Regions from separate parts of the Homo sapiens genome. Here all the other regions are linked to region 1. The links are contacts of gene promoters, found by promoter capture Hi-C in human tissues and cell types (Jung and others, 2019). All regions are on one chromosome and are shown on one strand. Each heading gives the region's core, a stretch centred on a gene start or on the middle of the fragment in contact. The rest is flanking DNA. Distances are from core to core; before and after follow the strand shown. Region 1 holds the start of ADAMTS7 (ADAM metallopeptidase with thrombospondin type 1 motif 7). Region 2 overlaps CHRNA5 (cholinergic receptor nicotinic alpha 5 subunit). Region 3 has its middle 23 kb from the start of CHRNB4.

Region 1 (3,381 bases), core at 882-3,381:
AGGCCAGCAGCCTCAGAGTCACCAATCCTGAGGGAGTGCAGAACAGGAAGGACCCCATGCTCTATATCTATGGGAACACTAGAGACAGACTTCACCCTTGGAGTGTTTGTGCCCAGATTAGGTTGGAGAGAGTGCCTGGCCTGCCTCCACCCTCAAACAGCAGGTCCAGGTCATCTGGGGAGTCCTGGGTCGGCCTGGCAGATTAATAAAAATAATGACCACTACATTGTAGTCACTGTGTCCTGCCTGAGCAACTGACATATTCAATATCTCATTTAATCCTCATAAGAATCCCACGAGGTTGACCGCACCCAACTCTTCCCACAGCTGCCAGGGGGCCAGGACCCAAGTCCTGAGGGAAGCATTTTCCTGCTCTCCCATTCCCATCGCCCGGTTCATCCTCCTCAGCCCCCAGCTCTGGACAGTGGAAAACACAAGCCTCATTCAGGAAGCTCAGGAGTCCAACCCCACAGGTCGCTCTACTCTGAGCCTGTTTGCTGGTCCATAAAAGGACTTTCCATCACTTGCTTTGCACGGTTGTTGTGGAGATGATGAGAAATAAGAACCCGTGAGGCTGGCACACAGTAGGTGCTCATTAAATGTTCGCTCCCTCTGCGCTCTGCGCATGGCTGCTAGACCAAATCTTTCCAAAACACTGCTTTCATCAGCTGCTCCCCTCAACGGCTTCCCAAACCTCTAAGATCAAGAGTCAATGTCCCCATCCTTCCCGCCCAGACTACTTTCTCGTCACAATCCCTCCAGTGGGGAGGCAGGTCGACCCCATCCCAGCAAGCAACCCTAATCCAGTCCCCCGACTGATGCTCCCCAGGGGAGGGCCCCACTCCCTCCACGCCCTTCTAGCTCATCCAGAATCCATCCATCCTTCCAGTCTCTCCAACCTCATGCCCCTCCTCTCCTACAAAGCCTGCCGGTCGGCTCTATTGCAGGACTCTCCCCACTATCCACCGGCTCCCCTGACTGGGAGCTCCCTGAGCACCGGGCCTGGGGTCTCCTACATCCTCGGTTACTGAATTCCCAGGCCGGCTGCGTCGGACGCGCCAGCAGCGCGGCCGCCCGGCAGGTCGCCGCCAAACAAGAGTCTGGACGCAGGCCAGAGGCTCGTCGGAGGCCGGCCCGGCGGGGCGGGGAGAGTTAACCCATGGCCGGGAAAAGAAGCTCCTGCTCCCCGCTCCACTCCCGGCGTCTTCACACTTGGGGAAGGGAGAGGCAGGAAGTGCAAGGACCGCGCAAGACCCGGCCCCCCGAGCCGCCAGGGGCCGCGCCAGCAGCCCAGATGCGGTGGGCGGGAGCTGGGGGGGCGGCGGGGTCCCGCGAAGACCTGCGACCTGGCGCCCTCGCCGGCTGTGTCCCGGCCAGCCCGCTTTCCAGGCGAGCCTCGCTAAGGAGTGTGAGAAACCAAATCCTCAGTGGGTAAACCGCGCTCCGTCCAGCCCACTCGGACGAGAGCTCTCCCGGGAGCCAGGCGCGTTGCTGCACCCGAGGTGGGGAAACCGGAGCCCGAAGAGCGGAAGGGGCTTATTCCAGGCGACAGGCAGTGTCAGTAACTGAATCAGGGGCCGAGGAAGTTTCCCCAGAAGCGCGGCTTCGCTCCCGGCCCGGCCCGACCCCGACTACTGTCCCCTAATACCCAGGGAGCGGAAGACGCGACCAACTCCAGGCACAGCGGAGCCGGCGCGGGGTCCACAAAGGTGAGGAGGGACAAAACCGAGACTGGGGGAGCGGGAAGGGGTGGCAGGCCCGGCTGGCCGGGGAGGGGCGGACACCCACCTGGTGCGGGTCCGGGGGCGCCGGGAGCCAGAGCGCAGAGGAGCAGGAGGAGGGGGCGCAGCAAAGGCGCGGGGCTGCGGGGACTGGGGCCGCCGGGCATGGCAGGAACCGGGCGGCCGCCGGGTGACCCCGCGCGCACGCTCTCGTCCGTCCCGTCCGGTCGCTGCCTGGTCCCAGGTCCGGCTCAGGACATGCCCGGCCGGCGTGCAGCTCCCGGCGACCCGGCCCCGACTCCGTTCGGCTGCGCTCGGTCCGCGGGCAACAAAGGCTGCAGGGCCCGCCCCCTTGGCCGCTGCAGAGGCAAAGAAAAGACAAGAGAGCTAGAAGGAGAGAAAGAAAGAAAGAAAGAAAGGGAGGGAGAGTGAGGGAGGGCGGCTGCCGGCCCCCGCCCCGCCCCTCGGACTCCTTCCCCCGCCCCTGGCCCCGCCCCGCCCCGGCCGGCCCCGGCCTCATCGGCCCCGCAGGCCGTGCTCGCCTCAAGGGCTGGCCGGCCCGGCGCAGGCAGCGCCCCGCAACGGATGTCCGCCCCCCTCGCCCCCCTGTCCCGAGCGCCCCCTGCCGGCGGAGCCCTGCCAGGCCTTTCCGACCCCGGCCGGTTGAGGACCCCCGGAAAGAATCTGGAATTTCCAGAATTAATGTGTTGTCCCTAAATTGGGCTCCACGAGGTGCCCTTCGCTGTGTTCCCCAGGCCAAGCAGGGCAGCCCCTCAAAAGGGGACGCGGGAGGCCTCCAGAGGGCCACACCGGGGGCCCTGCTTCAAAGCTATCTGCGGAGACAGGCCTGGGCCCTCCCTGGACAGACAGCGGTTGCCCGCGCGAGGTGGGGCCCCGCAGTTCCTCGTCTCCTGACTCCTCTCCTAGTGCGTTTGCTTGAAGCAGAGCGCAGAGTTGAGCCCACAGGCGGGGGACCGCGGCTTCGCCCAGGCCAGCGCCCACAGACTTTCAGCAGGGGCTCCCGGGGAGCCTGGAGGCCGGCCAACCCCAGCCTCACATCCCAGGCCAGCCTCCGCCTCCAACACCGGCCGTCTGTCCTTCGTGGCCCCAGCCCTGGCTCTGGCTTCCGGCTCCCCTTCCCCCTGTGCTCCCAGGAGCTTCCTTTCTCCCTTCTGCCGTCACTAAACATGGCCCTGTACCGAGGACGCCCGTCTTGTCCTCGGGGCGGTTGCGGTCAGCTTCCTCCCCTTGGTTAGTCTTTGTGTGCCCCCTGCCCTCTGAGGCCCGCACACCTCCTCATTGTCCAATCTCCTGGGCCCTTTCATTCAATTCCTGGAAGCTCACTTCTGGCTTCCTCTCCACCCTCAACCTGTCTGTCCTCTAGGGAATTTGTGTAGTACAGGGTCACCTACTTCCTCCATCTCATCTCCAGTGACCTTCCACTCCACCTCAGCCATCAGGTCTCAGGGCCAAAGCCTGGGCTGTGTCATCCCTCAGAACTGCTCCATCTTGGAAATCCGAAGCTCAGGTGCCCCCCTGTCAGACCCGACTCTGCAGTCCTTTCCACCTTCACAGTCCCACTATGTATTGCTCTTCCTCCAGTCCCTTGATACCTTCCTCTTCGCCCAACCTACCAGCCCCTCCTGGCTTCACCTACTTC
Region 2 (3,381 bases), core at 278-2,777, 230 kb before region 1:
GAAGCTCTAAAATTAATGGCTTTTAAACATTAAGAATGACTCTAGTGTATAATTTTCTAAATTAATCTAAATATCTTCAATGCTGTGCATTTCAGCATAAGGTGACTTTTACAGGCGTCACCACACAAACTCCATAGTATTTGTAGATTAAACTAAGTATCTTAAACTAGTTACTGCCTGGCGCAGTGGCTCACGCCTGTAATCCCAGCACTTTGGGAGGCCGAGGCGGGTGGATCACCTAAGGTCAGGAGTTCAAGACCAGCCTGACCAGTAGGGTGAAACCCCATCTCTACTAAAAATACAAAAATTAGCCAGGCGTGGTGGCGTGTGCCTGTGGTCCCTGCTGTTCGGGAGGCTGAGACAGAGAATCACTTGAACCTGGGAGGTGGAGGTTGCAGTGAGCCGAGATCACACCACTGCACTCCAGCCTGGGTGACAGAGTGAGACTCCGTCTCAAGATAAATAAATAAAAAATAAATAATTTTTTAAAATTAAACTAGTTATTCAGGGAAGCAGGACACAAACTCTTGAGGAGTAGGTTATTTATGAAAAAGAGAACCAGGAAATAGGTTTCCTCCAGCTAGAGTACCTGGATATTCTTTCATATCTCTGTATGGAAAACATGGTCTATCATCATAAAGAGAAGATTTTGTGAAAGTGCTAATTTCTCTCCAACCATTTCTTTTAGGTTGGAGAAGAACAATCACTTGCTACTGTAATCCTTATGTGTATATTTGCTGATTAATAAGCCAGTGACATTTTTGTTTCAAGTAAAAGTGGTTTTTTCGTAATATCATTAGTCTTAAGTAAAAGTCATGCTTGAATTTTTATACATTTCACATTTCCTTAAGTGATCCCAGGCCAGACAACAGTGAAAACTCATTTCTTCAGAGATGCTTATTTGAGCTCTGTAGTAGCATAAGCATAACTGTGATCCCCAAATCTAACCAGTCTTTGGCCATAGTATCCAAAACATTTTATATTTTGACTTTTTTTTTTTTTTTAACAACTTAGGTCCTTAAATAGATTTTTTTGAAGAAACAAGTTTCTTTTTAGTATATTTAATGGCACATGTTTCCTGATTTTTGAACGGGAATTCCTCATCTTCATTTTACATTGGGCCCTGTGAATTATTTAGCCAACCATGTTCACATTCTCACATATACATACATTTATTTATTTATTATTTGTTTGTTTGTTTGTTTGTTTGTTTGTTTTTTGAGACAGAGTCTCGCTCTGTTGGCCACGCTGGAGTGCAGTGGCACAATCTCGGCTCACTGCAACCTCTGTCTCCCGGGCTCAAGCAGTTCTCCTGCCTCAGCCTCCCAAGTAGCTGGGATTACAGGCGTGTGCCACCATGCCTGACTAATTTTTGTATTTTTTGTAGAGACAGGGTTTCACCATGTTGGCCAGGTTCGTCTCGAACTCCTTACCTCAGGTAATCTGTCCGCCTCAGCTTCCCAAAGTGCTGGGATTACAGACGTGAGCCACCGCCTATTTATTTTTTTTACTGATCTTGAAATAAACCTTTCTTGATTCTTTATCCTCAGTATCCCTATATCAGCATAACTTTTGGAAAGAGATCATTCCTGTCTTTGCACTCTGTCTTAAACATACTGCAGTTCATCTCTCTTCTCTTCCCATAGATGGCTTTTGTTAGATTCACCATTGACCTCACTGTTGCTAATCCAACACTCAGTTCTCAGCTGCCTCTCCATGTCTCATGAGTAGCATCAGTAGATTGGGAGGCTCAACCCTTCTTGCTGCATTTTCTTCATTTAGCTTCCAGGACAGCATGCTATCTGCTATCTTCGAGTTCTTCCTTCCTTATTCCCTAAAAAGCAGTTTTATACAAATGTATAGTTTTATACAAATATAGTAGCAAAGTATGTCAAAGCTAAATCAATCATTCAATATTTATATATTTTCATATTAAGATTATGACAGGCCAGGCACAGTGGCTCACAGCTGTGATCCCAGCACTATGGGAGGCTGAGGCGGGCAGATTGCTGAAGGTCAGAAGTTCAAGACCAGTCTGGCCAACATGGTGGAACCCCGTCTCTACTAAAAATACAAAAATTAGCCAGGCGTGGTGGTGGATACCTGTAGTCTCAGCTACTCGGGAGGCTGAGGTGGAGAATTGCTTGAATCCCAGTGGCAGAGGTTGCAATGAGCCGAGATTGCACCACTGCACTTCCAGCCTGGGAGACCAGGCAGGACTCCGTCTCAAAAAAAAAAAAAAAAAAAAAAAGATTATGCAAATTAAAGCAATTTTAACATTTATAATTGATAAATGAGCTTTGCTTTAGTATATCTGTTTTCTAGGTTTGGAATTTCAAGATAACTCCTGCCACCCTGGCAATTTAAAAGCTTTTATTATTTAGATTTGAAACTATTCTGTATTGAGTACTGAGTGTTTCTTAAGGAGCTCAGCATATTCCAATAGTCAGTCTGATTTAACTGAGACGTATCTGAACCAGAGTGTCCCTTATTCTATCAGAAATACTTACATTAATATTTCATTTTAAAAGCTGCATTAATAATAGCCTAAATTGTAGTTTGGTTCATTAATAATCTGAACTTTTTTTTTCCTTTTTTTTTTTGAGACAGAGTCTCTCTCCATGGCCCAGGTTGGAGTGCAGTGGCCCGATCTTGGCTCACTGCAACCTTTGCCTCCTGGGTTTGAACTTTTGTTTGAAAGTACAGGTATCTGGTGGGAGAGAAGCGAGTACATTAACTTTTAAAAATTTGTTATACAGGATTATCTGAACCTTCTTCTATTGCAAAACATGAAGATAGTTTGCTTAAGGATTTATTTCAAGACTACGAAAGATGGGTTCGTCCTGTGGAACACCTGAATGACAAAATAAAAATAAAATTTGGACTTGCAATATCTCAATTGGTGGATGTGGTAGGTGTGCATATCCTTCTATAGTCAATTTCCCACAGATTTAGTGAGAGCCTGGTGTGTGCCCAGGCACTGTGCTAGGCACCAAGGATTACAAAGGTGATTGAAGCAGTCCTTTGCCTGAAGGAACTCACCAGGGAAAAGTAGTGATTGTGTCACATACATGATAACACACTGTGTTTATATATTTTATAGTTTAGAAACTGTTTATCTCAATTTGGTAATTATAAGTCTATCTTTAACAAATTCAAAGATCTAAAACATTGTGTATTCCTTAAATGTGTTAAAAATAGTTTCAAAAAGTTAGCTTGAAAGGAGGGAAAAGAAAATAAATTTTTAAGTTTAAGAGAAAAAGTCCAAAAATAGAGTGATAGATTCTTAGGAACTAAAAGTATCACAAGAGATCATTATCTTGGGCTCACACTTAAAACATTTCAGAAATTTTTCTATATGACGTTCATTAGTAGAATAAG
Region 3 (3,381 bases), core at 308-2,807, 150 kb before region 1:
AAACCATAAAGGAAAGATTGGAAACGTGACTGCAAAAAGATTTATGATATAAAAATGTCATAAAATTAATAAGCAAATAAATCAGGAGAATTTAATGTATGTCAGACAGGGAGTTAATATCGGTACAAATCAATAGGAAAAAGACATATTCCCAATAGGAATGGGCACAGGGCATGAATATGTAGTTTAAAAATAAGTAGATATGGCTGGGCGTGGTGGCTCATGCCTGTAATCCCAGCACTTTGGGGGGCTGAGGTGGGCAGACCACCTGAGGTCAGGAGTTCAAGGCCAGCCTGGCCAACATGGTGAAACCCCATCTCTACTAAAAATAGAAAACTTAGCCAGGCATGGTGGCAGGCACCTGTAGTCCCAGCTACTCAGGAGGCTGAGGCAGGACAATCTCTTGAACCTGGGAGGCGGAGGTTGCAGTGAGCCGAGATCACGCCACTGCACTCCAGCCTGGGTGACAGAGCAAGACTCTATCTCAAAAAATAAAAAAGTAGAAATGACCAGTAAATATATGAAACAACTGTAACCATGAGAACAATAAAAGAAATGTGGCCAAACGCAGTGACTCACGCCTGTAATCCCAGCACTTTGGGAGGCCGAGGTATGAGGATTGCTTGGAGCTAGCAGTCCAGCACCAGCCTGGGCGGCAAAGTGAAACCCCATACCTACAAAAAAAAAAAAAAAAATTTTTTTTTTTTTGAGACAGTTTCACTCTGTCACCCAGGCTAGAGTGCAGTGCCGCGATCATGGCTCACTGAAACCTCTGCCTCCCAGGCTCAAGCGATCCTTCTGCCTCAGCCTCCCAGGTAGCTGGGACTACAGGTGCACATCACCACAACCAGCTAATTTTTGTATTTTGTGTATTCACCATGTGGTTCGTGCTGGTCTTAAAGTTCTGGACTTAAGCTGCCTGCCTCAGCCTTTCAAAGGGTTTGGATTACAGGCATGAGCCACTGCAACAACAACAACAAAAAACTCTCAAGTTTTTTTTATTTTTTTTAATTAGCTGGGCATGGTGATGCACACCTGTAGTTCCAGCTACTCCAGAGACTGAGGCAGAAAGATTGCCTGAATCCAGGCTTCAGTGAGCTATGATTGAGACACTGCATTCCTGCCTGGGTGACCAAGCGAGACCCTGTCTTAAAAAGGGAGGAGGAAGAGGAGGAGAGGACTAAAACCACAAGACACCTCTTTTTCCTGCTGAATTGGCAGAGATAAAAAAGATATAATGACAGCTGGACAGGGAAGAGTTTGAGTAAACAGACACTTATCCACTGCTGGGGCTGTAAACTGGAACAACTGTTCTGTAGGGCCAAAGCCCTAAAAATGCCCCATCTGTTTGTACCAGAACTTTTATTTCTAGAAATAGATCCTGAAGAAATAATCAGATGTGCAAAATGAATGCATCAATATGCATCACAGTCGCACTCACACATGGAATATTGAAACTGCCTAAATGTGCACCCATGAATCCAAACAACTTTCTTCTTGCTCACCCATCAGTCACCCAAGTCCTTCAGTCAAGTTTTAAAAACCAAAGCACCTGTGATTTAGCCTAAGGAGCTTTGCCCCCTTGTGCTGCACAGGGCAGGGCCAGATTGAGCTCTTTGCAGTGGAGCAGAAAGTCCCATCCAGCACTAGAGAAGTGAGTAGCTACTGAGGATTTAACTTGTGCTTTGTTTCTTGGTGTCCAGAAGGAATAGAAAGCATTTTCTGTCTCCCTAGGGACCTGTTTTTGTCTCTAAAACCTGGCTTCTTACCACTCTTGGGCCCTCAAAGCCTGACATGGTTGGATCCACCCCTCACCTCCTCCCCTGCTCACCACCTAGGAAGCCTCTTCTTAGCTCCAGCCACGCAGGTCTTCTTTCAGCTCTTCAAACTCATCATGCCCTCTCTGGCCACACAGTCTTTGCACATGCTGTTCCCTTTGCCCAGAACTTCTCCCATTCTCTCCTGCCTGGTTACTTCTGAACTTGAACGTCCCTGTCTCAGGAGGCTATCCTTGGCCTAAGTTTTTATAGGTTCCTTTTGCGCTCTGCATTCTACCTACAATTTCACATTAATTTATGCAAGTGTTTTGTTTCTGTCTCTCTCTCCCAAGATTCTCAGCACCATGTGGCAGTTGTATGTAGCTCCAGTATCCACACGGTGCATGACACATGGCTGGGCTTCAACACGGCTAACCCATGGCTCTAGGAGATTTTCTTTTATTATTTCTTTGGTAACCCCTTGCCCTTTGTTTTCTCTGTTCTCTTTCTGGAGTGTCAACTGGTTGGTTGAACTTGAATCAGTCCTTGAAGTATTTTATTTCTCCTCTTGTATTTTTTTTTCTTTTTTATGTTTTGTCTGCATTCTAGACATTCCATCAATTTTATTTTCCAAGCCATCTAGCAAGTTTTATTTTGGTAACCATATTTTTAATTGTAAAAAGTTACTTCTTTTTTGAGATGGAGTCTCACTCTGTCGCCTAGGTTGGAGTGCAGTGGCGTGATCTCAGCTCACTGCAACCTCTGCCTCCCAGGTCCAAGCGGTTCTTGTGCCTCAGCCTCCCGTGTAGCTGGGATTACAGGCACACCACTGCATCTGGCTAATTTTTGCATTTTTGGTAGAGACGGGGTTTCACCATGTTGGCCTGGCTGGTCTCAAACTCCTGACCTCAGGTGATCTGCTCACCTCGGCCTCCCAAAGTGCTGGGAGTACAGGCATGAGCCACTGTGCCTGGCCAAAAAGTTACTTCTTTTATGTTTGCACACACATGTTCACAGCAGCATTATTCACAATAGCCAAAAGGTGGAAACAACTCAAGTGTCCATAGACAGATGAATGGATAAACAAAATTTGGTATATCCATACAATGGACTATTATTCAGCCTTAAAAAGGAAGGTAATTCTGACACATGCTACATTAGTGAACCTTGAAGACATTATGCATGTGAAGTAAGCCAGTAACAAAGGACAATTATTGTATGATTTCACTCATATGAGATACTTAGAGTAGTCAAATTCATGGAGACAGAAAGTAGAATGGTGGTTGCCAGGATCGGGGCCAGCCAGGGATGGGGAATTTTTGCTTCATGGGTACAGAGTTTCAGTTTTGCAAGATAAAAAAGTGTTCTGGAGATGGTTGTTGATGACGGTTTTAGAACAATGTGAATATCCTTAATGCCACTGATGTGGTTAGACTTTGTGTCCCCACTCAATCTCATCTTGAATTATAATCCCCAGGTGTTTAGGAAAAGACCTGGTGGGCAGTGACTGGAGTATGGGGGCAGTTTTCCCTATGGGGGCAGTTTTCCCCATGCTGTTCTCTTAATAGTGAATGACTTCTCACCCGATCTGATGGTTTTATAACTGGTAGTTTTTCCTGCACTG

Evidence for each region. The method cuts DNA at HindIII sites, captures the fragments that hold promoters and counts their contacts. A contact is called where the count stands out against the background at its distance.
Region 2: a fragment that was not itself captured here is called in contact with the fragment with the promoter of ADAMTS7 in region 1 in 1 of the 25 tissues and cell types used here (IMR-90 fibroblasts).
Region 3: a fragment that was not itself captured here is called in contact with the fragment with the promoter of ADAMTS7 in region 1 in 4 of the 25 tissues and cell types used here (liver, mesendoderm cells, spleen and 1 more).

What each region holds. Positions count from the first base shown.
Region 1 is chr15:78,809,333-78,812,713 of GRCh38, forward strand. It overlaps ADAMTS7 (ADAM metallopeptidase with thrombospondin type 1 motif 7), which reads right to left and starts at 2,132. Exons shown (of 24, transcript NM_014272.5): 1 at 1,789-2,132. The coding sequence starts at 1,888. RefSeq lists a silencer at 2,160-2,579. The HindIII fragment of the contact is 14,119 bases long and covers 1-3,381 here.
Region 2 is chr15:78,578,052-78,581,432 of GRCh38, forward strand. CHRNA5 (cholinergic receptor nicotinic alpha 5 subunit) reads left to right here. Exons shown (of 6, transcript NM_000745.4): 2 at 2,760-2,911. Among named protein-coding and RNA genes, the nearest start is that of CHRNA5, 14 kb to the left of the region's middle. The HindIII fragment of the contact is 3,216 bases long and covers 1-3,135 here.
Region 3 is chr15:78,662,778-78,666,158 of GRCh38, forward strand. No RefSeq gene overlaps it. Among named protein-coding and RNA genes, the nearest start is that of CHRNB4, 23 kb to the left of the region's middle. The HindIII fragment of the contact is 6,536 bases long and covers 1-3,381 here.